4 separate regions of the Homo sapiens genome follow, and regions 1, 3 and 4 are each linked to region 2. Evidence: promoter capture Hi-C in human tissues and cell types (Jung and others, 2019). All regions are on one chromosome and are shown on one strand. Each heading gives the region's core, a stretch centred on a gene start or on the middle of the fragment in contact. The rest is flanking DNA. Distances are from core to core; before and after follow the strand shown. Region 1 overlaps LOC105378669 (a long non-coding RNA gene). Region 2 holds the start of NT5C1A (5'-nucleotidase, cytosolic IA). Region 3 overlaps MACF1 (microtubule actin crosslinking factor 1). Region 4 has its middle 19 kb from the start of MACF1.

The links. Contacts are between HindIII fragments. The study calls those that stand out against the background at their distance.
Region 1: a fragment that was not itself captured here is called in contact with the fragment with the promoter of NT5C1A in region 2 in 1 of the 25 tissues and cell types used here (lymphoblastoid cells).
Region 3: a fragment that was not itself captured here is called in contact with the fragment with the promoter of NT5C1A in region 2 in 2 of the 25 tissues and cell types used here (dorsolateral prefrontal cortex and lymphoblastoid cells).
Region 4: a contact is called between a fragment that was not itself captured here and the fragment with the promoter of NT5C1A in region 2, in 1 of the 25 tissues and cell types used here (lymphoblastoid cells).

Annotation. Positions count from the first base shown.
Region 1 is chr1:40,020,787-40,027,635 of GRCh38, reverse strand. The region is part of intron 2 of LOC105378669 (a long non-coding RNA gene); the gene reads left to right. Among named protein-coding and RNA genes, the nearest start is that of CAP1, 17 kb to the left of the region's middle. RefSeq lists an enhancer at 6,761-6,849. The HindIII fragment of the contact is 3,453 bases long and covers 1,434-4,886 here.
Region 2 is chr1:39,669,580-39,676,668 of GRCh38, reverse strand. NT5C1A (5'-nucleotidase, cytosolic IA) reads left to right here and starts at 4,562. Exons shown (of 6, transcript NM_032526.3): 1 at 4,562-4,765. The coding sequence starts at 4,631. RefSeq lists a silencer at 4,370-4,779. The HindIII fragment of the contact is 3,595 bases long and covers 2,549-6,143 here.
Region 3 is chr1:39,274,289-39,280,500 of GRCh38, reverse strand. All of the region lies in intron 6 of MACF1 (microtubule actin crosslinking factor 1), which reads right to left. Among named protein-coding and RNA genes, the nearest start is that of MACF1, 73 kb to the right of the region's middle. The HindIII fragment of the contact is 3,769 bases long and covers 1-3,745 here.
Region 4 is chr1:39,182,314-39,188,825 of GRCh38, reverse strand. It overlaps a transcript of MACF1 not described here. Among named protein-coding and RNA genes, the nearest start is that of MACF1, 19 kb to the left of the region's middle. RefSeq lists enhancers at 4,217-4,730, 4,707-4,976, 4,731-5,245, 4,486-5,685. The HindIII fragment of the contact is 7,790 bases long and covers 1-6,512 here.

The DNA of each region.
Region 1 (6,849 bases), core at 1,911-4,410, 350 kb before region 2:
TTAACTTTAGAATCATTTACCATCTGGAGAGGCTGACAGTGAAAACAGTTTTATTTTCAAGCCAAGCCAAGTAAGTCCTGGTCCTAGATATAGATATGTGTGTGTGTGTGTGTGTGTATATATATATATATATATACACACACATATATATACACACATATATATACACATATATATACACATATATATATACACACACATATATATCAGCTTTATTGAGATATAATCCACATACCATACAAGTCTCCCATTTAAAACATACAATTCGATGTTTTTAGTATATTCACAGAGTTGTACAACTTTTACCATGATCAATCTTAGAACATTTTTATCACCCCAAAAAGGGACCTGGTACCCATTAATGGTCATACTCTGTCCCCCCTCACCCCTGCCACCTCTGTCTTAGTCTGTTTGTGCTGCTACAACAAAATACATGAGACTGAATAATTTATAAATAGTAGACATTTCTCACAGTTCTAGAGGCTTGGAAGTCCAAGATCAAAGCACTGGTGTTTGGCATCAGGTGAGGACCTTCTCACATGGCAGAAGAGATGGAACCCACCAACTCAAGCCCTTTTATAAGGGCCTTAATGCCATCCATGAGGGCTCGGCCCTTATTAGTCATCTCCTAAAGGCCCCACCTCTTAATACTATTACATTGGTGATTCAGTATCAACATATGAATCTTGGGGACACATTCAGAACACAGCACCCCACAACTCTCCCTGCCCAACCATAGGCAATCACTAATCTACTTGTCTCTATAGATTTGCCTATTCTGGGCATTTCATATGTTAAATAAAATGTATGGTCAGGCACAGTGGCTCACCTACCCAGCTAATTTTTTAAATTATCTGTAGAGATGAGGTCTTACTATGTTGCCCCGGGTGGTCTTGGGCTCAAGCAATCCTCCCTCCTCAGCCTCTCAAAGTGGTAGGATTACAGGTGTGAGCCACTGCACCCAGTCTTATAAATTGATTTTTTTTTTTTTTAAAAAAAGACAACTCAACCATCTGCAACAATAGGGGCTATGGTTCATCCCCCTAACCTCACTCATTCAGGTTTCTCCTCAGGAAGAGAGGCCTGTGAGAGCTGTAGAGGAACTTCTCTCCAATGATGTGGGGCAGGTGGATCTTGGCAGTGCAAGGGATGGGCTATGTGACCAAGGGGTGGACTGTGTGCACAATGTCTTACATCCACCTTCACAAAGAGAATCTGCTGTGAGGTGTAGAGGTAACTGCCGTACCTCTGGGATTTGCCACAGCATTCTTGCCAAGGCACGCTTTCCCTGGATTCATCCCAGCCAATGACCGAGCTCCAGGGCATACTACAGCTGGGCCATTTCTGCCTTATGTGGGACTCCTTCACTGGGCAATCAGCCTGGCCAAGAGTTTTTTCAGAGCTGCACTAACACTCGGAGCCTCTTCCTACCCAATCCTCCTTCTTTCCTTCTCTCCTCTCACGGGTGTCAGTCCTGCACCATGGCCTGAAGATTCTCCCTGTCTACTCCTGCTGCTTCTTATCTTTTCACTGCCATTTTCCACTTGAACTTTTTTCTTTTCTTTTTTTAGAGGCAGAGCCTTACTCTGTCACCCAGGCTGGAGTGCAGTGGCTCAATTATATCTCATTGTAACCTCGAACTCCTGGGCTCAAGCCGCCTCCCGTCCTCAGCCTCAATCTCTTGAGTAACTATCTGCCTTGAACTTGTGAGAGGACTCAAATTTATGCAGCTTTTAGCTGTTTCTAAGAAAAAGTTTGGTATGGGTGCTACCATAATGAAAGCCTAAAATGTGGAATTGGCTTTGAAACCACCTGGCTGACTGAGGCTGGAAGGACATTGAGGTGTGGCATGGTGGCTCACGCCTGTAATCCCAGCACTTTGGGAGGCTGAGACAGGTGGATCACCTGAGGTCAGGAGTTCAAGACCACCCTGGCCAATATGATGAAACCCTGTCTCTACTGAAAATAAAAAAATTAGCCGGGCGTGGTGGCAGGCACCTGTAATCCCAGCTACTCAGGAGGCTGAGACACGAGAATTGCTTGAACCTGGGGGACAGAGGTTGCAGTGAGCTGAGACTGCACCACTGCACTCCAGCCTGGGCAACAGAGTGAGACTCCATCTCAATAAATAAATTAATTAATTAAAATTTACAGGAGGCCATTGATTTGGACTAGGCTCCTGCACTCAGCCTAACAGACCAAACCAATGGAGTTTAACTACAGTGACTGAGCTGGGATTATAGGCATGCACCACCACACCCAGCTAATTTTTGTATTTTTAGTAGCGATGGGGGTTTCACCATGCTAGCCAGGCTGGTCTTGAACTCCTCACCTCAGGCGTTCCACCTGCCTTGGCCTCCCAAAGTGCTGGGATTACAGGCATGAGCCACTGCACCCAGCCTATTTTCTACATGATTTTGCAATGGCTTTCCAGCTTAAAATTTAGAGTCAATTTGTTCATATAAAGAGGATATCAAGTACCAATATCCTAAAATATTGACAAACTATTAAGTGTAAAACTCCCCCAAATTCAGTTTAATATGAAACATACTACATGTATCATAGAATTTTCAAATATCTCATGTCACATTAATAAAGAAAGGAAAAATTGGGTTACTGTTGCCAAAGATGTCACAGATAGTATAGAATTCTGACAGACAGGTCCAAGACAGGGAAGCAGTTTAAAACAAAACAAAACAAACAAACAAAACAGGTTTGACTTAATAGGTTATACTTAGAAAATGTTAGCCAATATTAGAGTACATATATTTTTGTCAAGAATTTCCATGGAGCTTTTATAAATATTGACCATGCTCCAGGTTACAAAACGAGTCTCAAACACCAAAGAATCAGTATACTTACCGCATTGGGTGTCTCATTATAACTGGAGGACAGTAAGAACAGTAACAGCAACACCTTAAAATACCCTGTATGTTGGAAAAACTTTAAATATAGTTACTGCTAAACTGATCAAAGAAGACACCATACAAGAAAGTATCAGAAAATACTTAGAACTGAATGATTTTAAGAGTGCTATATTGAAATTTATAGGATGTACTTAAGGAGAAATGCATAGCCTTAAGTGCTTATATTAGAAAAAAAGATAGGCTGGAATTTAAAGAGCTAAGCTTTAAAGTCAAGATGTTAGACAAAAATCAACAAAGAAAGCAGAAGTGGCCAGGCATAGTGGCTCACACCTGTAATCTCACCACTTTGGAGGCCAAGGCAGGAGAACTGCTTGAGGCCAGGAGTTCGAGACCAGCCTGGGCAGCATAGCGAGACCCCCAATCTCTAGAAAAAAATTTAAAAATTAGCCAGGCATGGTGTCTCAGTCTTTGCTACTTAGGAGACTGAAGCAAGAGGATCACTTGAGCCCAGGAGATCAAGTCTGAAGCGAGCCGTCATCACGTCACTGCACTCTAGCCTGGCAACAGAGCAAGACCCCATCTCTAAATAAATAAATAAAACAAAAAAAAAAAAAAAGGAAAGAAAGTAGAAGTAATGAGATAATAAAAATGAGAGGAGAAAAAACAACAGGAGAAACTAAGCAGAAAACAAATATATGTGATAAAAGAGATTGACATAACCAAATGTTGGTTCTTTGAGAAAAGTAATAAAATAGACAAACCGCTGGTGAAATGATGAAGAAAAGTACAAAAAAAAAAGAAGTAAAAAAGAGGACATACTACAAGTACAGCAGACACTGATGATATACATATTTAAAGACTGTCTACCGCAGCCTGCCCTCTGGCCAACACCATTCACGTCCATTCCATGTGCAAAATATACTCACTCTCCTCCCAGGACCCCCAAAGTCTCATCCCACATGGTATCAGCTTGAAGTTCACAGTCTCATTACCTAAATGAGGTCTAGCTGCAGATGAAGCTCTTCAGGCGTACTTCCTTGAGTGTGGGTTCCTCTTGATATGAAGACCTGTGAAATACAGTCAAGTCATCTGTAACACAAACACAACATCCAATAGTCATATGAGGATAGGAAAACTGCAATAAATGCTCCCATTCAAAAGGGATGAACAGGAGGCACATAACAGTCAGTGTTCCATAGTAATTCTGAAATCCCAGATTTCAGAATGCACATTTCCATGTCCTTAACTGGGACCCAATCCTGCTCCTTGGGAGTGATTCTCTGTGGTTCTGAGTTCTGCCTTCTGGACTCTTGGCTCTTCACTTTGAATCATCATTCCGTTTCCAGAAAAAAAGTCTTATATTTGCTGCTGTGTAGCTTTTGAAGCCTGCTTCTTGCCCATAGGAAGTTCTGAGTTCCAAGGGTTTTTTTTCATTTTAAACTATTCTTTTTAGTTGAAGCTGATGGTGCTTCTACATATGCAATTCTCTTAAATTATTATGAGTTTCCTATGAATCTTATTTGAGTTCTTGAAAGCCAAAGTCACAAATGTTTTCAAGATAGGTCCTTCTCTGCCATAGTCTGAGATTCAGTGTGCTATAGGAAACATCCTTAATATTCTTTTTTTTTTTTTTTGAGATGGAGTCTTACTCTTGTCTCCTAGGCTGGAGTGCAATAGCGCGACCTCAGCTCACTGCAACCTCTTCCTCCCGGGTTCAAGTGATTCTTCTGCCTCAGCCTCCCAAGTAGCTGGGATCACAGGCACCCCCATGTAGTTAGCTCCTGCCACCATGCCCAGCTAATTTTTGTATTTTTAGTAGAGATAGGGTTTCATTATATTGGCCAGGCTGGTCCTGAACTCCTGACCTCAGGTGATCCGCCTGTCTCGGCCTCTCAAAGTGCTGGGATTACAGGCGTGAGCCACCACACCTGACCAAGATTCTTAAAAGAGTAGAAAAAGAGTCTATGAAGCATTCTAACATTCTTAGTAGCCCCTCATTTACTTGAGAACATCTAACAGATGCTTAAAACTTAAAACTTTCTAAAGTCTTAAAAAGTCTTACAGCTGCACTCTTGACTTCATCTTAATACTGTTCTTCCAGGCCGGGCGCGGTGGCTCACGCCTGTAATCCCAGCACTTTGGGAGGCCGAGGCGGGTGGATCATGAGGTCAGGAGATTGAGACCATCCTGGCTAACAAGGTGAAACCCCGTCTCTACTAAAAATACAAAAAAAAATTAGCCGGGCGCGGTGGCGGGCGCCTGTAGTCCCAGCTACTCGGGAGGCTGAGGCAGGAGAATGGCGTGAACCCGGGAAGCAGAGCTTGCAGTGAGCCGAGATTGCGCCACTGCAGTCCGCAGTCCGGCCTGGGCGACAGAGCGAGACTCCGTCTCAAAAAAAAAAAAAAAAAAAAAAAAAAAATACTGTTCTTCCTTTGAAAAACTTCTATTTTATTTTAAATTTTTATTTATTTATTTTTTAGATGGAGTCTCGCTCTGTCACCCAGGCTGGAGTGCAGTGGCAGGATCTCAGCTCACTGCAACCTCTGCCTCCCGGGTTCAAGCGATTCTCCTGCCTCAGCCTCCTGAGTAGCTGAGATTACAGGCACATACCACCATGCCTGGCTAATTTTTGTATTTTTAGTAGAGATGGGTTTTCACCGTATTAGCCAGGATGGTCTCCATCTTCTGACCACGTGAATCCCCCCGCCTTAGTCCCCCAAAGTGCTGGGATTACAGGCGAGAGCCACCGTGCCCTGCCCCTTTGAAAAACTTTTGATGGCTAAAAAGATTGTCCTGAGCACTTTATATACCCTCTAAATTCTTCTAGAAAGCAGAATCATTTCCTTGTTAGATTATCTTTCTCTTCTTGTACCTTACCATTGACTGCTAAAAGACACCAGTCGGCACTTTGAACATTCCACCTAGAAATCTCCTTAGCCAAATTCACCAGTACATTAAGTATACTTTCTATTTTATGTTTTACCACAGGTGACATTCTTCAAAACATTTTGCTACTACATAAAAATAGTTGCTTTTTCTCCAGCCTCCAATAACAATTTCCTCCAATAACAGTTTCCTTCAAATCTTCACTAACAGTCTCCTAAGGCCCTTCAGCTTCCAACAACTACCTGGTCCTAGGTCACTGTCCCATGTTTTAGGTTTTTGTCACAGCAGCATAACACTACTTGTATCAATTTCTATTCCAGTTACCTATTATTACCTTGGTGCAAAAGTAATTGTGGGTTTTGTCATTAGTTTATTATTATTATTATTATTTTTGAGACAGAGTCTCGTTCTTTGGCCCAGGTTGGAGTGCAGTGGTGTAATCTCGGCCCACTGCAACCTCCACCTCCAGGGTTCAAGCAATTCTCCTGCCTCAGCCTCCCAAGTAACTGGAATTACACATGCCCCCCAACCATGCCCAGCTAATTTTTATATTTTTAGTAGAGACAGGGTTTCACCATGTTGGCCAGGCTGGTCTTGAACTCCTGACCTCAGGTGATCCACCCGTCTTGGCCTCCCAAAATGCTGGGATTACAGGTGTGAGCCACAGCATCGGCAGGTTTTTGTCATTACTTTTAACGGCAAAACCCGCAATAACTTTTGCACCAACCTAATACTATTATAATAACAATCTATACCCAACTTCGTGACTTAAAACAATGATTTATTATCTCTCATGCTCAGTGGGTTGACTGAAGTCAGCTGAGCAGTCCTCACTTGGGGTCTCATGTGATTAGCATTTGAAGGTGGCTGGGGCTGGAGCCATCTGAAAGCTTCACTGGGCTGGATATCCAGAATGGCTCATTCACATAACTCGAAGTTGATGCTGGTTCTCTGCTGGGAGCTTAGTTAGGACTGTCAATCAGAGTGCCAACAGGCAGCCTGTCCATGTGGCTTAGGATTCTCACATTCTAGTGTGTGGGTTTCTGAGGAGTGTCTCAAGAGCAAACATTTCAAGAGATCCAGCTGGAAGTTACAA
Region 2 (7,089 bases), core at 3,313-5,812:
GTGCACAAGCCATTGCTCCTCCCTGGGTCACCCATTCCCCTGTCTGAATTATCTCCTCCTCTATGAAACCCTCCCAACTCTCCAACGATTGGCCCTTCACGTGTACACAGTCCCTCACAATCAACAAACACTTCCCATGTGATCTGCTGTTGGCTGAGCCAAGCACACATTTAAGTCTTTTTTTTTCTTTTTCTTTTTCTTTCCTTTTTTTTTTTTTTTTTTTGAGACAGAGTTTCGCTCTTGTTGCCCAGGCTGGAGTGCAGTGGCACGATCTCAGCCCACCTCAACCTCCGCCTCCCGGGTTCAAGCAATTCTCCTGCCTCAGCCTCCCGAGTAGCTGGGATTACAGGCATGCGCCACCATGCCCAGCTAATTTTGTATTTTTAGTAGAGATGGGGTTTCTCCATGTTGGTCAGGCTGGTCGCGAACTGCCGACCTGTGGTGATCCACCCGCCTCGGTCTCCCAAAGTTCTGGGATTACAGGCATGAGCCACCGTGCCCGGCCATGTCATTTTTTTTTTTTTTTTTTTAAAGACAAGGAAACAAAGGCCCAGAAAATGGTAAAGCTGGGACTTGATCTCAGGTCTCCTAACATCAAGGCCACTGCTTGTTGTGCCTTCTCAGCCACGGGAGTGAATCCAAGTCAGAATGTGAAAAGAGATTAAAAAAAAAACCGGCTGGGCACGGTGGGTCACACCTGTAATCCCAGCACTTTGGGAGGCCGAGGCGGGTGGATCATGAGGTCAGGAGATCGAGACCATCCTGGCTAATACGGTGAAACCCCGTCTCTACTAAAAATACAAAAAAATTAGCCAGGCATGGTGGCGGGCGCCTGTAGTCCCAGCTACTCAGGAGGCTGAGGCAGGAGAATGGCGTGAACCCGGGAGGCGGAGCTTGCAGTGAGCCGAGATCGTGCCACTGCACTCCAGCCTGGGCAACAGTGCAAGACTCTGTCTCAAAACAAAAACAAAAACAAAAACAAAAAACCCATGAGCTCTGAGCTTCAGAGGAGGAAGCGTCTTACCTGACTGGGGAGAGGTGAGGAATAGGTAAAGAGCAAAGGGCAGCCATGGCTTCATGGAGGAGGTGGCATCTGCCCCAGGTCTTACTAAACATTAGCCAACAGGGCCAGGCATGCTGGAGCAGGGCTCTCCAAGGGAACAGCCAGGTGTGGGGCTCCTGGAGTCATGCCCTACAGGGTCTGTTCCCAGCTTATTCATCTGAAGAAGTGCTGGACCTGGAGGCAAAGTCCTGGCTGGAGTCCAGAAACCCTGAGCCAGGGAAGCCCTGCACCCAGCCAGCTATTAGCAAGTGACAGGCAAGCCAGAGAGCATGGCCAGAAGCCTGGAAGGGTGGAAAGAACAGTTAAGGATCAAGTTCTCTAATCCTTCCAAAGAAGGATCTGGGGAAAGTTCTTTTTTTTTTTTAAGACAGAGTCTCGCTCTGTCACCCAGGCTGGCACGCAGTGGCACGATGATCTCGGCTCACTGCAACCTCTGCCTCCCGGGTTCAGGCAATTCTCCTGCCTCAGCCTCCTGAGTAGCTGGGATTACAGGCGCACCCCACCACACCCAGTTTTAATTTTTGTATTTTTAGTAGAGATGGAGTTTCACCATGTTGGTCAGGCTGGTCTTGAACTCCTGACCTTGTGATCCACCCACCTCGGCCTCCCAAAGTGCTAGGATTACAGGCATGAGCCACCGCACCCGGCCCGGGGAAAGTTCTTAAAGGGACTGAACCAGGAGTCTGGGCAGGATTCCTTGATGGCAAGGAACAGTGCCTACTCATGGCAGGGTGAGTAAAGGGGAATGGATTAGTTGGGACTTTTGGTTGCAAGTGAACGAAATCCAACTCACACAAGCTTAAGCAAAAAGGGAGGCTTATTGGCTCATGTAATTGGGAAGTTCAGGCATGGCTGGGTCCAGAAACTCAGTTGCATCCTCTCTCCCTCCCTCCTTCTGCTTCTCTCTCTGTGGCACCATTGTCCTTCCAGATGTGCTTCTTCCATGTTCTTTCACCTGCCAAATGGGTTCCCAGCTCACATTGCCCCAAATTAACAACCTCAGAGAAAAAGAGCCAAATCTCCCAGAAGCCCTAAATAAGAGTGAAGAGTGTCTCAGCTGGGGTCACATGCTCATCCTTGTGTCCAGGGACACAGGGCTCCGCCATTGGTCAGGTCTCAGTTACAGGTCTCTGTACCAGGTCTGGTACTTCTTGACCAGAAAACCAGGGAGGCAGGGCTTTTTATTAGAAAGAGAGGCCGGGAAAAGTGGCCACTCAAGCAAAACCACAATCCACCAAATTTCCTTTTGGGGGCATTTGTTGAAACAATGTGGAGAATCTCATGAAAGTGTAGAGATGGGCACCAGAGCCAGGCCTTAGCTAGAACTTGGGAAACTGTCAGGAGCAGAGGCGGCTCCATCTCAGGGCAGCATGGTTTCTCTCATGTGCTGCTCTCTGCACATCCTTTCCCATCTTGATCTGCTGCTCATCTCATTCTGCTCAGAGAGTCTCCACCTGCGCCGAGCTTTACTTTGCATATAACTGCAGTCTGCTGAGGCTCACCCAGGTCTCTTCGGAGCCAACTGTATTTCACAGCATCCTCAGCTTCTATTCCAATGGTTGACTGCCCAGCCCATTTCCCAATTCCAAATTCCTGAGAAAGACAAATCTGCTTGGCCCAGGTCATCTTTTCAAGCCAATCACACAGATTAAAGGCCGCTGGACAGCATGGGGGTGGCTCACTTTTGTGTGAAGTGCCCACCTCCATCCAAGTAACCACTCTATGTATTCTTCCTGAGTTACTTCATCATTCTTCTCCATGAGGCACCTGAGAATAATTGACCTCATTCCTAGAGTTTCAATTATTTATTGCAGTGTAACAAGCTACCCCAAAACTTGGTGCCTGAAACAACAATTTATTATTTTTGATGATTCTGTGAGTTGGCTGGGCTCAGCTGGAAGGTTTTACTGCTTCAGGTTGTGTTGGCTGGCGTCACCCACATAGCTGCACTCCACTGGGAGCTGAGCTGGGGCTGGGACAGCCAGGATGGCCTCATTCACATGTCTGTCAATTGTGCCTATAGTCACCTGGGCTGTCGCTAGCTTCTTATCCTCCAGGTCCTATCTGTCTCACTACGTGGCCTTTCCAGCAGGATAGTCCAGACTTATTTACATAGTAGCTGGCTCCCAAGAGGGCAAAAATGGAATCTGCAAGGCCTCTTAAGACGTAAGCTTGGAAACCACAGAGCACCACTTCTACTCCATTCAATTGGTCAAAGCAAGTCACAGGGCCAGCTCAGACTGGACTCCACCTCTGAATGGGAGGAATGTCAAAGTCACATTTCCAAAGGACAGGCAGGATGGAAGAGGTTTTTGGGCCATCTCTGGAAACAATCTTCTAGAAGTAAGTCTAAACACACTTCCCCCAATCCTAACATTTTATTATGATTTTTCCCTTCCTCCCACACAAGGGTTGGTTTATTCCTCCCAGGACCTGGTGGAGGCTGAGGGGATCACTCCATTCTGTAGCCCCCTCACCTCCCCAGTCAGAGGCCCTCCTAGCTAAGCCAGTGTTTTCTCCTGCTTCTCCCACCCACCCATGCACACCTCTGAGAGAGGCTGTCTGCTTCCTGGCCTGTACCTTGGGATGGGTGACATTTGTGTCTGCACCCTGAGACTAGTACAGAGCTCTGCATCAAGAGGGACAACACCCTGGAATTCCAGGATGGTAGTTCCGAGGCCCCTCTTCTGCCCTCCCTCTATCCAGCCCCTTCATGGCCTATAACAAATCACCCCAAGCTGGGCAGGTGGGGGCCTAGGAATGCGCGCCCTCTGCTGACCACCAAAGGGCCAGCAAGAATTCGGGTTCAGAGTCCCTGGGAGTCTCTCTGGCCTGGGTCCCCACCCCAGGCCAAGGTCTCGACCTGAGACCACCCGAGCCTGGTCTCAACATGGACTTCAAGGGCCCCTCCTAGGTGGTGTGGAGGAGCTGCCGGGTTGGGCCCTTCACTGAGCTCCCGCTGGGAGCAGGCTTCTGCTAGTGAGAGGAGCCATCCATGCATCACCTCCTGCCCGTCTGCCGGATGGACTGGCCTCGGAGGGAAGGGGACATCGTCAGGATCCCAGGGTCCTAGCTCCTAAAGGAAAGATGGGCAGCTAGCTTTTGGGAGGGGAGCGGCTAGCTTTTCATTTTGTCCTTTGGGGATCACTATCCTGGGGGAAAAAAAAAGTTGTCAGGCCTCTCCTGTCTCCGCGCCCTGCAGCGCCTGCGAAGAACATCATTTTCGCAATCCCCAATCCGCTGCAGCCCACAAACCCAGAGAGCCAGAGAGCCCCCCTCACCACCCAACCGGCTGCTGGCGTGGGTCGGTCGGGGAAGGAGAGCCCAGCTATCCCTCATACCGTACAGCAGTAGCAGCAGCAGCGGCAGCGACACACGGGCGACCGAGAGGGCCAGTGTGACCTCCCCCCGCCCGGCGGGCGGGGAGCCCAGCTCACACGCACAGCCTCCTCGCCGCTGCCCGCCCCCTTCCCTCGCCGGGACTCGCCTCCCTCCTGCAGCCCAGCCCCAGCCACCTCCGCGTCTACGCCGCCGCCTGCTCTGGCCGGGCCGGGTCAGAGCCGGAGCATGGAACCTGGGCAGCCCCGGGAGCCCCAGGAGCCCCGCGAGCCCGGGCCAGGAGCGGAGACCGCTGCGGCCCCGGTCTGGGAGGAAGCCAAGATTTTCTACGACAACCTCGCGCCCAAGAAGAAACCCAAATCGGTAAAAGCAATGCACGGGTATGCGGGGGACGGGGGAAGGGTTACCCCGGAGGAGGGGTCATAAGTCTCTTGGGAAGGGACCCGTGGCGCCCCTCTGGGAGGGGACGCAGCTCCTCAGCCCCAGAATGCGCCCTGCAGCTGGCGCGGGCTCGGGTTTATTTTGGGAGCTCTGCTCTGGTGTATTTTTTTACCGGGACTCGGGTTCCACGCCAGGCTCCCCCTCCCCCATGCTGTCATCAGGGCCCAGCTAGAGGCCCGCAGCCCCAGCCCCTCCCCACTCGGGCCGCCGGGGAGCGCGGATTGCACTTGTTGGCGAAGCTGGTCCGCAGCGCTTCCAGAAGCGCCCCAGGCGCGGGTAACCAGACTTTGGGAACCCGGTTCCTGGCTGTGCGCTCCGGTCTCCGCCATCTGGGCATCGGGCTCCGGACCTGAGACTCTGCGTTTGGGGTCTGGCTCTGGGTCCTGGGCCCTGGGCTGGGGGCAGTGCGCTCCCCGCGTCCTAAGGAAAGGGAGCTGCTCTCTCCAGGCACTGGGATCCACACTCTGCGCTGGGGGGCGATCGGCGCCCCTGGCCGCAGGCTCCCAGCGCTGGACTCTGCCCCCCAGCTCGGGTTCTGCTCCCCTTGCAGTGGGCATTAACATCCCCACGACCCTGTGGTGGTGTCAACCGTCTGGGACCTCACAGAGGAGCTCTCTCCTCTCTGCCATCAAACAAGTTGATGATGCCCTGGTCTGCCCCTGGACCTTGCTGTCTCCAACTTCCCAGATCTCAGAGCTTGAGGAGAAAACCGAGAATAGAGGTTGGCCCACAGCGGTCCTCCAAAGAGCTCCAGCTTGATCTTAAAGCAATTTGCTGCTTCCCTCCAAGAACCCTTCCCCAACAGGTCCACCCTATCAGCAATCATTCAATTAGCACCTCCAAGCTCTGCTCAAGAGTGGGGATTGAAGAATTAAATAACCTGAGTCCCTGCCTCAGGAGCTCACTGCACAATGATGGAGGCTCCAGAGATGAGAGCCTAGGGGAGTTGGGGGGGGAGTAGAGTAGTGACATCACACTGGGGAAAGCTTTGTAGAAGTGGCACGTATCCTGATCTTAAAGCCTGAGTAGGTGGAGTTTCCCAGGGAGAGGGAAACAGGACAGGCAAAAGTCATGCAGATGTCTCTGAAGCTCAGGACTGTGTTCCTGAATAAGTACTGAATGAAGAATGCAGGATTGTTGGAAGAAGAGCTGGAGGGATGTGGAAGAGCCCACAGAGGGCCTTGGGGATCATGTTAAGGAGTCTGGACCTTACTCAAGGGGGTCAGGGATTTCCAAACTAGCTTCCCCAAGCCCCATGTTTCAGGGAGTCTGCACACATGTGAATCCAATTTATTTTCTTTCTTCTTCGGACTATGTTTTAAACAATTAAAAATGTGTAATAAAACCCAACTCACTCTAATGTATTAGGTGGACATTTTAGCAGCTTGAAGGCCACTAGCTTGTGCTGCAGATTTTTTTAAAGCAAAGCTCAGAATAAGGCTTCCCCTGTGATCTGTTCCATCAAAGAGCGTCTTGAGATTGTAAGGCCTTTAGTTTAAAACAAACCAAAACAAAAAACCTTTTAGCATTTCCAACCACTTATTGGTCTGAATCAGGACTTTCTCAATACTGTACAAATACAAACACAGCAACAACTTGGCCGGATGCTGAAGCTTAAGTCTGCACTGGCATTCTAGCCGCTAGTTTCAAATTTGTTGTCATGCAAACAACTGTGTTGTTTTCATTGGTTGACTTTATAATAAATAAATAAATAAATGTAATGCATTTGAATCTGTAAAATAAATAAACACCAATTATATATGTTATATCTGGTACCATATGGTATGAGATATATGGTAATATCTGGCTTACATATTGAATTCAAAGTTTATTTGAATTCATTTAAATAAAAGGTCAACCTACATTTAAACAAACATATGAATACCATTATGGAGCTATTACAGGATTTTTCATCAGGGGATTAACTGGGTCCCATTTTTATTTTAGAAAGATCACTCTGGGATGGATTGGAAAGGGTGAGTCCGGCAGCAAACCCACCAGTGAGAAGGCTGGTGCCTCTCTGAAGAGGAAGCTGGATGAATGTCAATGCTGTGGCCTGAGTGATGCAGAAGAAGGGATGGAGACTGGGGACTGGGGCAGTGAAAGCATCAGTGCTCAAAATCCATTTCCTCCCCAGGCACCAAGGAACCGGAGAGCTCAGGCCCAGTTGTCAGTCATGACCCCTGGATCAGCCCCTGACTCTCATGGTTCTCTGGGAGGCAAGAAGCCTGGAGGCTTCCCAGCTC
Region 3 (6,212 bases), core at 612-3,111, 390 kb after region 2:
CTGAGGGGGGCTGGCACCACATCTTAACAACCAGAGCAATATAAAACTGAACAGCAAACCCTATGTGGGAGAGCTCCTCGCCACTGGACGTGTCAAGCAGAAACTAAGATGCTGTGAACGAAATAACTTCCAAATCTGAGAATCATTGATCACAGTCCTTTGGTGCATTGCCCATTGCACTTAGTGTTGTGCTGGTTGTATGGTGGGACCTTAACATGTTTTAATTAATAATAACTTGGTTTATGAATGAAATAATAAAAATAAAATGAAATAATAAAAATAAGCAAATAAAAGTATTTTGGGGGCTGGGCACAGTGGCTCACACCTATAATCCCAACATTTTGGGAGGCCGAGGCAGGTGGATCACCTGAGGTCAGGAGTTCGAGACCACTCCCGCCTAGGTGACAGAGCGGGACTCTGTCTCAAAAAAAAAAAGTATTCTGGCATAAAGCCCACCTAGAATCTGTAGACAGGTTACTTAGCTAATTCAAAGCACTGTGTAAAGTAAACAAGTTTATATTTGTCTCCTCTGGAGTGGGACTATGAATGACTTTAGTTTTTCTTCCTACTCTTCTTTTTTTCAGACTTCGAGTAATGACCACACTTTATTTTTATAATAAAAAGTATAAAAACAATCCTTGTTAACAAGGAAAAATGTTAAGCCTTTCATTCAGACAGATATGTGTTTGAAAGAAGGCATTTACTAGAAATGTGACCTCAGGCAAACCATGTAAGCCTCCTGGCCCAATTTTCCCCATATTTAAAATAGGATAATAACTTTCTCAAAGGATCATTATAAGGATTAAATAAGATGATGTAGATAGTGCCGAGGGTACATGTATTCCCTTCCCATAATAATAAGACAGCATACCCAACACAATTTTTGGTCTGGGTGTTGGGGCAGAGAAAACACCGGCATGTCAATAGAACATCCTGTCTCTTAGTCGTCTCTATCAGGTGCAGTACCATGAAAGTAGTAGCTTCCCTTGTGATCAATACAAGGGAGAAGTCAATAATAAGTCATCTCCAAGTGTCTGAATTTACAAACTCATAATAGATGAGATTAAATATCAGATGATATTTTAAAATTGGAAAAAAAAAAGGGCCAGGAACTTTAACACTATATTTAGAATAAAAGAAAGCTGCAGGCTACTAAATATTACTAAGATGTCTGAAGAAAGACCGTGAGAATAGAAGAGTATGGGAAGCTTGCATTGAGTACAGAAAAGGGAAGCCAGGAAGTACTGCCTCCATGCCTGTGAAGGTGAAACTGTACCCTACCCAGCAGATTCAAGGGACATAGGATCTTATGCCCTTGACAGGTACATTTCTACAGAAGAAATCAGACTATTCTACTTTGATGATGCCAGCTAATAAGCCCATCCTACAAATCATTCCTCTACTCACCACCTCTCTGCTCTGACTGCATGTTCACCTGACAACCTTCAGATTATTATTTGCTTCCCATATAGATATTCTAAAGCAACAAAAGCAGTAAGTGGCCAATTCAAATTCTTGAATCACTTGGCAGTTAAAATTTATTTTGTAAATTAATAAATTCACATAGACCAATCTCAAGCAAATGTGATCAGTGTGAGTCAGTTTACTAAAACTATTAATCAACTCCAGATCTACCTGGGGCTGGGGGAGGGGCGGTAGTGGGGAGAGAAGCTATGGAGCTGCAGAGCCAAGGACACAATAATGGATCACGGCTCTTCCTATAAACAGCTTCTTCCTAGTACCAATTCTATTTCAGTTCCCCTTAACATTTCTAGCTACCTATTTCACTGGCTAAATGCAACATTGATATATCCCACTGCCTTCACTGTAGCTGCTTCACGTACATATTAAAGTAAAACATTATTGGGAACAGGAAATAGATTTGTTGATGTAAAACAAGACAGAACTTGAATAAGCAAAACAAAATCTGAGTATTTGGGTTCTTCACCCAAAAATGAAATTCCAGTTAGTTAATTGATATTGTATGTTCATTACAGCCATAATCTTTCTAATAACATCTCTCATTTCTTAGTATTTCTGTATATTGCACTAAAACTACTTCAATGAACAGCTTTACTTCAGATTTTAAACATAGTTGTAATGAGATAGATGTTTGGATCCCTAAGGGAAAGAAAAATAAAATACCTGTTTGGATTAGGGCCATTACCTAGACTGGAAACTGGATGAGAAAAATGGGATTATCATCACAACCATCTCAGTAATTAAATTTGGCTTTCATCAATCTCTTTCTGTATACTCACACATGATATGTGTGCACAGTACTGTGCTCTGGGCTATGCAGAAGCTTTTACCTTAATCTCCCAAATGCAGAAATCCAGCTTTAGTTTCAGAGATCTTTCTCCCTCATCTGGGCTTTTTAAGGAGGAAGCCATTTGGAGAGGGAGAACAGCCTCAACAGTATGCCTGAGAATATGCAAATTCCACTTGAATTTCCTTTCATCTCACACTTCCCAAAGCTTGGTTAATTGCTTCTCTGAAGTATTCCCAGAAGCTGAATGTTTTCCTAATAATTCAATAAGTATTGACTGAACAACATCTTAGCACTATGACTGGCACCATGGAGAAGAACAAGAAAAGACACACCACTTACTTATACTGTTAATATTTTTTGAGCAACCATTATATTCTAGGAGCTGTGCTTAAATTCTTGATATCTCAAAATAAAAAAACACAGCCTCAGGCCTCAAGTTCAAGCAATTTAATCAGGGAGACAATTTACTATACAAAGAGATCAATGTTGTGACAGAGGTAAGCAAGTAATCCAAACTAGCAATGCCAGAGGATTGCTCAGCAACAACAACATCTGTGCTGAGTTTTAATAAGTAGAAGTTGGCCAGGTAAAAAGGTGGAAAACAAAAAAAGAAGACATGCTTGGCCTGCAAGAACTTAGTTGAGACATGCCATAACTAACATATGATTATCCCAAATATTTTCCCAGATAACAACAGATGTATGAAGGTAAAACAGGAATACAGGAAGGGAAGCTCTGTAGTCCTCCTGAATACCCAAACTTTTAGAAATTTATTTACACATATACACATATTTAAAATTAAGCAGTATATTTAAGCATTTAGTATTAATGTATTTTCTGCCTTTGTAATTTCAAAAAACTGTATTATTCAAACTTCACATGCATCTTTAACATCAATGTTTTTTCCTTCAATAAAGCTATCTTTTTAGTGAATTTTCTAGAAAATACTGTCTACTTTTCTAAGATTTTAAAGTTAATAACAGCACTTTTCTGAATCTACATTGTCTCTGGGTATTTCATTTCAAACCACAAGAGTCCAGTTACATAACACTGGATTAGGGTTTTTTTTTTTTTTCATTCATTCTGCTGTGTTTATTTGTGATCCCCATAATGTATGTGTATGTTTCATATGCAATGTGAGTGATTCAAAAAAAAATTTTAATGTTAAGGCTTGTATACAATTACTTTCAACACTTCAAATTAGGAGATTATATTCCCAGGAACAATAACTAAAACTTTCTTAGATTTTTCATTCCTCTTTTTTGTTTAATCAATTATGTCAGTTGATCTCTACAAAAAAATGATAGTGATTGAACTAGCAGATGGTGACATAGATTTATTCACCCTTTTTCATGAACTGACTATAAGCTCCCTGGAAGCCTAATAACAAGAAATGCTTTATAAGAAGTAAAATATAAAGAGAATATCTCTTTTCTGAAGGTTAATTTCTGGACGAAAAAAATCTCATATCTATGGTAGGTCACATGAAATAGTTAAACAAATTTATAGCCAAAAACGACCAATAATTATAGTAATATCCAATACAGAATCTCAGCAGAATGGAAAATTACTGTGGGCTGGAGGATTTCTAGAAGTACCATATAAACTCATCCTTGAAGGGTGTTACAGAACAGGTGAAAGCCAAGGAAGAAAGGAATTCCACGTAGAAAGTGGATGTAAACAAACTGAGATAAGGTGAAACAGAAATAGTAGTTAAGGGACTGATCTGTTAAAATGAGAAGGTTTAAATTGGGAACCGATAGAAAAGATAAGATAGATTACAAAGGAACTGGTAATCTATCTTATCTTTATCCCAGCTGAGGAGTTTCGACTTGGTATCTTATCTTATCCCAGCTGAGGAGTTTGGACTTGGTAAGTCTCTCAGTGGATGAGACGAGTTGTTCTGAGCAAGTAAGTACTTGATTATTATGTCCTCAAGTTTCTAGCTGACCTCATCACCCACTAAAGATAAAGCATCAGACCTTGAAAACTTTCAAGAAGCAAATGAGGGCTGGGTGCAGTGGCTCACTCCTGTAATCCCACCACTTTGGGAGGCATAGGCAAGAGGATCACTTGAGCCCAGGAGTTCAAGACGAGCCTGGGAAACACTGTGAGAAATTGTCTCTACAAAAAATTTAAAAATTAGCTGGGTGTGGTGGTACTCCCCTGTAGTGCCAGCTACTTGGCAAGTTGAGGCACGAGGATCGTTTAAGCCCAAGATGTCAAGGTTGCAGTGAGCTATGATTGCACCACTGCTCTCCAGCCAGGTGTCAGAGCAAGATTCTTTCTCAAAAAAAAAAAAAGAAGAAGAAGAAGCAGATGAAGGCACAATGCAGTGGTTCTACAAATGCCCAGCTAGAGGGATCTAATGGCAGCTATGTTGGTGAGGAACAGAGATAAAGAAGGTGTTTATTACCAATATTAGAGTTAGGTAAAAGGGAGTGCTCCTTTCAGTATTCACATTCAGAGTCCTGGAGGTCTCACTAGGGAATATAATTAGAATGGAAACCCTAGGTAATAGAACATGGGCATTTTTCAACTCTACAAAATATTGTCAAACTACTTTCTAAAGAACAGTAGCAAATTATACTTCCACTTAAGTGCTATGAAGAGGTTTTCCCATCACTCTTCATCCTCGCCTACACTTGGTATTTTCAGAATTTTTACCTTCTGCCAATCTGATGGGTATAAAATGGTATCTTAGCTAGGCATGGTGGTGTGCTTGCAGTCCCAGCTACAAGCTTGAGTCCAGGAGTTTATGGCTACTGTGCGCTATGATGGTACCTGTGAATCGCCACTGCTCTCTAGCCTGGGCAACATAGCTGAGACCTCATCTCTTTAAAAAAAATTACAGGCGCAGTGGCTCACACCGTAATTCCAGCACTTTGGGAGGCAGAGGCGGGCGGGTCACGAAGTCAAGAGATCAAGACCATCCTGGCTAACACAGTGAAACCCCGTCTCTACTAAAAATACAAAAACAAAATTAACCGGGCATGGCGGCGGGCGCCTGTAGTCCCAGCTACTCGGGAGGCTGAGGCGGGAGAATGGCGTGAACCTGGGAGATGGAACTTGCAGCGAGCCGAGATCGCGCCACTGCACTCCAGCCTGGGCGACAGAGCGAGACTCTGTCTCAAAAAAAAAAAAAAAAAGTATCTTATTGTTGTTTGATCTGTATATCCTTATTAGTAAAAAGGAGTCTTCTTATGTATATGAGGCATTTGGATTTCCTTTTTTTGTGAATTGCTTATTCCTGGGCTTTCCCCTATTTTTCTACAAGGGTGTTTGTCTTTTTCTTATTCATTTTCTTGTTCTTTTAAGTAATAATATTAACTAGCATTTATTGTGATTACTTGTATTAATTCATATTATTCTCACAACAACCCTACCAAGCATATGCTATTCTTATCTTCCATTTACAAATAAGGAAATTGTAGCACAGAGAAGTTTAGTAACCTGTTCCAAGTTATACTGCTAGTAAGTTGCAGAATTGGGATTCAAACCTAGCCAATCTGGCTCCATGCTCTTAATCACTTTATCTATAGGATAGTAACCCCTTTTCAGTAGTCATCCATGGAGAATTGGTTCTAGGACCTCCCTCAGATACCAAAATCCGCAGATACTGAAATCCACAAATGCTCAAGTCCCAGATACAAAATGAGGTAGTATTCACATACAACCTGTGTACATCCTCCCAGCTACTTTAAATAATCTCTAGATTACTTATAATTCCTAATACAATGTAAATGTTAGTAAATAGTTGTTATCTTGTTTAGGGAATAATGAAGTCTGTACATGTTCATTACAGATGCAATGTTTTTCTTCAGAATATTTTCCATCCGTTATGGGTTGAATCCCCAGACGCAGAACCCACAATGCAGAGAGCCAACTGTATATGTATTATATCATAATTTTACCAGTATTATTACATTTTTATTTTTAT
Region 4 (6,512 bases), core at 2,387-4,886, 490 kb after region 2:
TCGAGACCAGCCTGGCCAACATGGTGAAACCCCGCCTCTACTAAAAATACAAAATTAGCCAGGCATGGTGGCAAACACCTGTAATCCCAGCTACTTGGGAGGCTGTGGCAGGAGAATTGCTTGAACCTGGGAGGCAGAGGTTGCACTCCAGCCTGAGTGACAGGGTGAGACTCCGTCTCAATCAATCAATCAATCAATCAATAAACTTTGACAATGAACGATGAGGCCCTTCCAGACTGGCCAATTGCTCCACTTGGCCCAGAGCTCTAGCTACCAGAATTGGCCCCCAGATGGGAGACTGGCCAGTCTTTCCTGGGGAAACCAACCTCCTCTACCTGGTTATTCATTAGGAGTATACCAGTTAACGAGTCCCACCAATCAGCATTTTAGGGCCCAGCTCTTTCTTTTTTTATTTTTGGAGACAGGGTCTCACTCTGTTGCCCAAGCTGGAGTGTAGTGGCGCAGTCTCAGCTTACTACAGCTTCAACCTCCGGGGCTCAAGCAATCTGCCCACCTCAGCCTCCATGCGCCACCACATCCAGCTCATTTTTGTAATTTTTTGTACAGATGGGGTTGCCCAGGCTAGTCTTGAACTCCTGGGCTCAAGCAATCCACCTGCCTCGGCCTCCCAAAGTGCTGGGATTATAGGTGTGAGCCACTGTGCCTGGCCAGGGCCCAAGTCTTAAATGTGAAGATCACCAAGAAACATCAGACATTTTAAGAGAACTTCTAACATGAAAGACAGAGACCAAAATAAATAGAAGGAGCTCAGAAGAAACAGAGACAATGCTGGATGCAGAGGAAAAAAGAAAAGAAAGGGAAGGGAAGGGGAGGGGAGGGGAGGGGAGAGGAGGGGAGAGGAGGGGAGGGAAGGGAAGGGAAGGGAAGGGAAAGGGGAAAGAAGGAAGGAAGGAAGGAGAGAGGAGAGAGAGAGAGAGAGAGACAGAGAGAGAGAGAGACAGAGAGAGAGAGAGAGAAAGACAGCCTCTAATTAATATCCTTAGAGAGACTTAAAAGGCAGTATTAGCCAGACAATTGCTTGAAGCCAGGAGTTTGAGGCCAGCTTGGGCAACATAGCGAGATCTCATTTCTACAAAAAAATTTTAAATAATTTTTTAAAAAATCTGCTAGAAAGTGATTTGCAACCTAGAACTCTATACTCAAACTCTTAATCAAATGAAAAGTAGAATAAGACATTTTCAGATAAGCAAAGTCTCAAAAACATTTACCTCCCTTGTATCCTTTCTCAGGAAGCTAGGATATACCACAATGAAAAAATGGAGTACATCATGAAATACGACATCAGCTCTGGGAAACATGAAATCCAACAGGGAAGACAGGTGAGGGAATTTCCCCGTATGATAGTGAAGGGAAGTGCCAGGATGACAGCTTTACTAAAGGCTTTAAGAGCAACCCATCCAGAGTGAATAAGAGAAAGCTCCTGGGGGATGTCTCCAAATAGACTATTGAACTAAAAGATTATTTGATATGTTTCAACATACTGAGAGAGAAGTCTTAGAGTCCCATGAGAGAGTCTGAAGGTATGTACATAGATCAGTAAACAAGTGACAAAATATGGCAATTATTAATTCCAGGAAAAATTAAAAGTTGGTCCAAAAAGGAAATGTAATCATAGTATATTACATAGCTCACCTTTAAGCAATATTTATATAATCACAATAATCTGAACACTGAATATAACGGCAATAACGTGTGACTTTGGGAAGAAGGGGGAAGAGAAAGTGTGTACGTTAAGGGGGTAAGAATAAAAAAACTAAACCCTAATTTTCTGTAGTAGAATATCAACAGATAATGTTCAAAACCAAAAAAAAAAAAAAATCAAGAATCACTAGTAAAAGAGAAAGAAATATATTCTGGCTGTTTGTGTGTGCAGAAAAAAAAGAAACAGAAATGTGGCCCAGGTGTGGGGGCCCACACCTGCAATCCCAGCACTCTGGGAGGCCAAGGTAGGAGCATCATTTGAGGCCAGGAGTTTGAGACTAGCCTGGAGAACAAAACAAGACCCCCAACTCTACAAAAAGAAAAAAAAATTAGCCAGGCGCAGTGGTACACACCTATAGTCTAAGCTACTCAGGAAGCTGAGGTGGGAAGATCCCTTGAGCCCAGGAGTTCAAGGGTGCAGTGAGCCATGATCACACCACTGCACTCCAGCCTGGGTGGAAGAGTGAGACCCTGTCTCTTAAAAAAAAATAGTGGAAAATACAGATTATTTTTGTCATATGCCTTATAGTAATATTTTAACCTTTTAAAGTAAGAACATGTATAATTTTGATTTAATGTTATAGAAAGTTGGACTGGATTATGAAAGATCTTAAATGACAAGATGAGTTTGGATTTTATCCTATAGGTGAGCCCCTAAAAAAGTCATTTCTAGGCCGGGCGTGGTGGCGCGTGCCTGTAATCCCAGCTACTCGGGAGGCTGAGGCAGGAGAATCATTTGAACCAGGGAGTTGGTGGTTGCAGTGAGCCGAGCATGCCACGGCACTCCAGCCTGGTGACAGAGTGAGACTCTGTCTCAAATTAAAAAAAAAAAAAAGTCATTTCACCCCCCACCAAAACACACACACACACACACACACACACACACACAGAGAGAGAGAGAGAGAGAGAGAGAGAGAGAGAGAGAGAGAGAGATGTTCAGAATCCCAGCCCCCACATGGATTCCCTTAACATTCTGGAATCTGGTTAATTGGGTTTCAGATATTTCTCCCTTATCCACTCCTCTACCTCATGATTAAAGGCCTTTAGCTCATAACCAAAGGGAGAGAGGACCTGTATATATTATGTGGCAGGTACGAGTCTTGGGCTCAGACTCATCTGACAACGAGTCAGGTGGTGACTTCTGAAACAGCATCACCACAGATTACCCTCAGGGGGCTCCCAAATCAAATACACCCTAGGGAACTTTCTTCCCTGGGTCCTTCAGCACTTCAGGTTAAAAATCTCTTCTAATGATTTGTTATTTCATGAAGAGATACAGGGAGATGGCTGCTAGCAGGGAGGAGGAATATTGCTAACTAAGCCCCCGGAAAGTCCAGCACCCTTCTCTAAGAAGTAAGTTATCTGACTCATTTCCTTCTTATCCTACTCCAAAGATCTGTTTACATCCTACAGTGTACCTAGTAATATTGTCTAAAAACAAAACTCATGATCAGCCAGAAGAACGTAACAATTAAAGACTGTGTCAAGAAATAAATAAAGCTTTCCTTCCTCCCTTTCAAATTATAGTTGTTGTTTTTTAACTTTTCCTTCTTGCTTCTGATATATCTTGGGTTTATTTAAAAAAAAAATTTTTTTTTTTAAAGAAACTGGGCCTCTATGCTGTCCAGGCTGGAGTACAGTGACTACACAGGCACAATCATGGCACTATTCTATAGCCTTGAACTCCTGGGCTCAAGCAATCCTCCTGCCTTAGCCTCCCGAGTAGCTAGAACTACAGGTGTGAGCTACCATGCCCAGCTCTTCTGATATATCTTTTTCTTTTCTTTTTCCTTTTTTGTTTTTTTTTTTTTTGAGACGGAGTCTCGCTCTGTCGCCCAGGCTGGAGTGCAGTGGTGCCATGTCGGCTCACTGCAAGCTCCACCTCCCAGGTACATGCCATTCTCCTGCCTCAGCCTCCCGTGTAGCTGGGACTACAGGCACCCGCCACCACGCCCAGCTAATTTTTTTGTATTTTTAGTAGAGATGGGGTTTCACCGTGTTAGCCAGGATGGTCTCGATCTCCTGACCTCGTGATCCACCTGCCTCGGCCTCCCAAAGTGCTGGGATTACAGGCGTGTGCCACCACGCCCAGCACCAGCCCTGATACATCTTAAAGAGAGGTAGTATCTTCTACTTTTTTGGTGGTGTCCTATGCAGCCTAAAAGTCCCTTTTTCCAGGCCATCTTCAGATGAACGAGTTATAAGCACAAAGGCAGCAATTGATATTGCTAAGCCATCTCTCCTAAGACCTTCCTTGAGAGGCCTGAAACCTGAGGCAGAATATTATCAATGCTAGCCTCTCTTTTATCTTTGTGTAAATGGCTAATTTAGCCTCCAACCTCATAATCACACAGACTCTGGTAGGTGCATGATGATGACCAGGAGCACTCTTTCACAATCTTAATATAAATAACAGCCTGAATAACCTAACCAACTTTACTGCTTTGCGATATGAAAAGATACTAAGACTTATCCTGACTGAAACTCTCCATCCCGCCACCACACTCCGCCTCACCTTATCAGCTTCAACCATACAACACCATTGGAGGGCCCTCTACTCAAAGAAGAAAAACACCACCACCACAAGACTTAACTGGGCTTTGAGCAAAGATCTAGCTCTTGCCAAAATACTAGATGGAACTAGGGTACTTTTGGCAATAAGGTAAAAAATTCTGAGATCTGACCTTCTGATGTCAAGGCAAGTTCCCCTCTCTAAATATGTCAGAGGAAATGTCATGCCTTCAAACCAGCCAGTATGACCATGTGAGGCTCATTTCCAAGACACAGACCCTGCTAGCTATAGAACTGAGGCACACAGTGCAGGAACCCACACACGCCGCCCTGCATGAAAAAGAAGTCCATGACTAGCACAGGATGTTGTGAGCCATCTCACCCAGATACAAACACAGTATACCCAAGACATGCATAGACTCAACCATATGCTCTGAGGGCACATGAACAGCACTGCCCACACCAGGGCTCATGAAATAGGAACTAAAAAACAGGTGATGTTTCCTGTGATTTATGCTGGTCAATCATTCTGACTGCCCAGGCAGCCACACCATTTAATATCTTCCAGCAGCTCAATCAAGGTTCCTGTCTCCACCTGCTCCTGTGACATCATCCTGTCATTATATGTTCTTTGAAATTCCTTTGATGAAAAATGAGTCACTTCTTCCTGCCAACACAGGCCTGAGCCTCTTCCACACATGTCATTCTTTGGTAATCCTGTGGGGGCAGGGTGCCACCCAGAGGTTTCTGCAGCTACTCTCGCTATACCTCCCAAGAAAGAAGGCCTCAGAGCAAGATCAAACATAGCCTGGGGAAAAATGGGCAAATGATGAAAGAAGTGAGGATCTTGGTGGAGCTGGGTATGGGGCTGGGAAACTGCCTACTCCAGTGTGACACACAGTTTAAAGGATGAAGTAAGAACTAAGGTAGGGCACAGTCCCACTTAAAACTTGGAAATGCTTCAACTTCAGAGTGCTCACCTTAAAAGTTCGCTTCCTGATATAAAGTGCCATCATGTATTCTCCTGCAAAAAAATGATTGCAAACCTGTTTCTCACCTTGAAGATTTGGGGCAACAGTAACTTGCCTGCTCAAGACAGTGACAGTTCTGAAGCAAAATATTCAAGACAACTTCAAGATTCTCAGTGGCAGCAATAAGGGGCCCAATACAAACAGACAAATACTATTCATACCTACAAATCAGCCTAATATTTTTATAACAGCTTCACTGAGATTTGGTTAACATAAATTCACCCTTTTTAGGTAAACAATTCAATGGATATTTAAGTATCAGTATGTTCACAGAGTTGTTCAACCATCACCATTATCTAACTTTAGAACATTCCATCACCCCCTGAAGAAACCCTATATCAATTAGCAGTCACTTCCCATTCGCCCCTCCTCAACCCCTAGCAACCACTAATCTACTTATGGTCTCTATGGATTTGCCTATTATGTATAAATGGTATAAATGGAATCATACAAGCCTTTTGTGTCTGGCTTCTTTCACTTAGTCTAATGTTCTCAAGGTTGATCCATGTTAGCATCAATCAGTACTTCATTCCTTTTCACTGACAAATAATATTCTGTTGTATGGATATGCCACAGTGTGTTTATCCATTCATCAGTTGATAGATGTTTCAGCTGTTTCTGCTTTGGGGCTACTATGAATAATGCTGCTATGAACATTTATGTACGAGTTTTCTATGAATATATGTTTTCTATATTCTATGAATATAATATTTCTTTTGGATATATACTTTGGAATTGCTGGGTCATGTGGCAACTCTACTTTTTGAAGAACCACCAAACTGTTTTCTAAAGCAGGTGCACCATTTTATATTCCCACCAGCAATGTTGGGGGTGTTCCAATTTCTCCACATCCTCACTCTCTTTTTTATTAAAGCCATTCTAGTGGGTATGAAGTGGTATCTCATTGTGATCTTGATTAGCATTTCCATAATAACTAATGATGTTAAGCATCTAAGCATCTTTTCATGTGCTTATTAGCCATTTGTATATCTTCTTTGAAGAAATGGCTATATAAATCCTTTGCCCATTTTTTTATTGGGTTTTCTTTTTACTGTTGAGTTCAAAGAATTCTTTATATATTTTGGATATAAGTCCCTTATTAGATATATGATTTGCAAATATTTTCTCCCATTCTGTGAGGTGTCTTCATTTTCTAGGTAGTGTCCTTTGAAGCACAAAGGTTTTACATTTTGATCAAGTATAATTTCTCTATTTTTTTCTTTTTTGTGTATACTTTCAGTGTTAGCT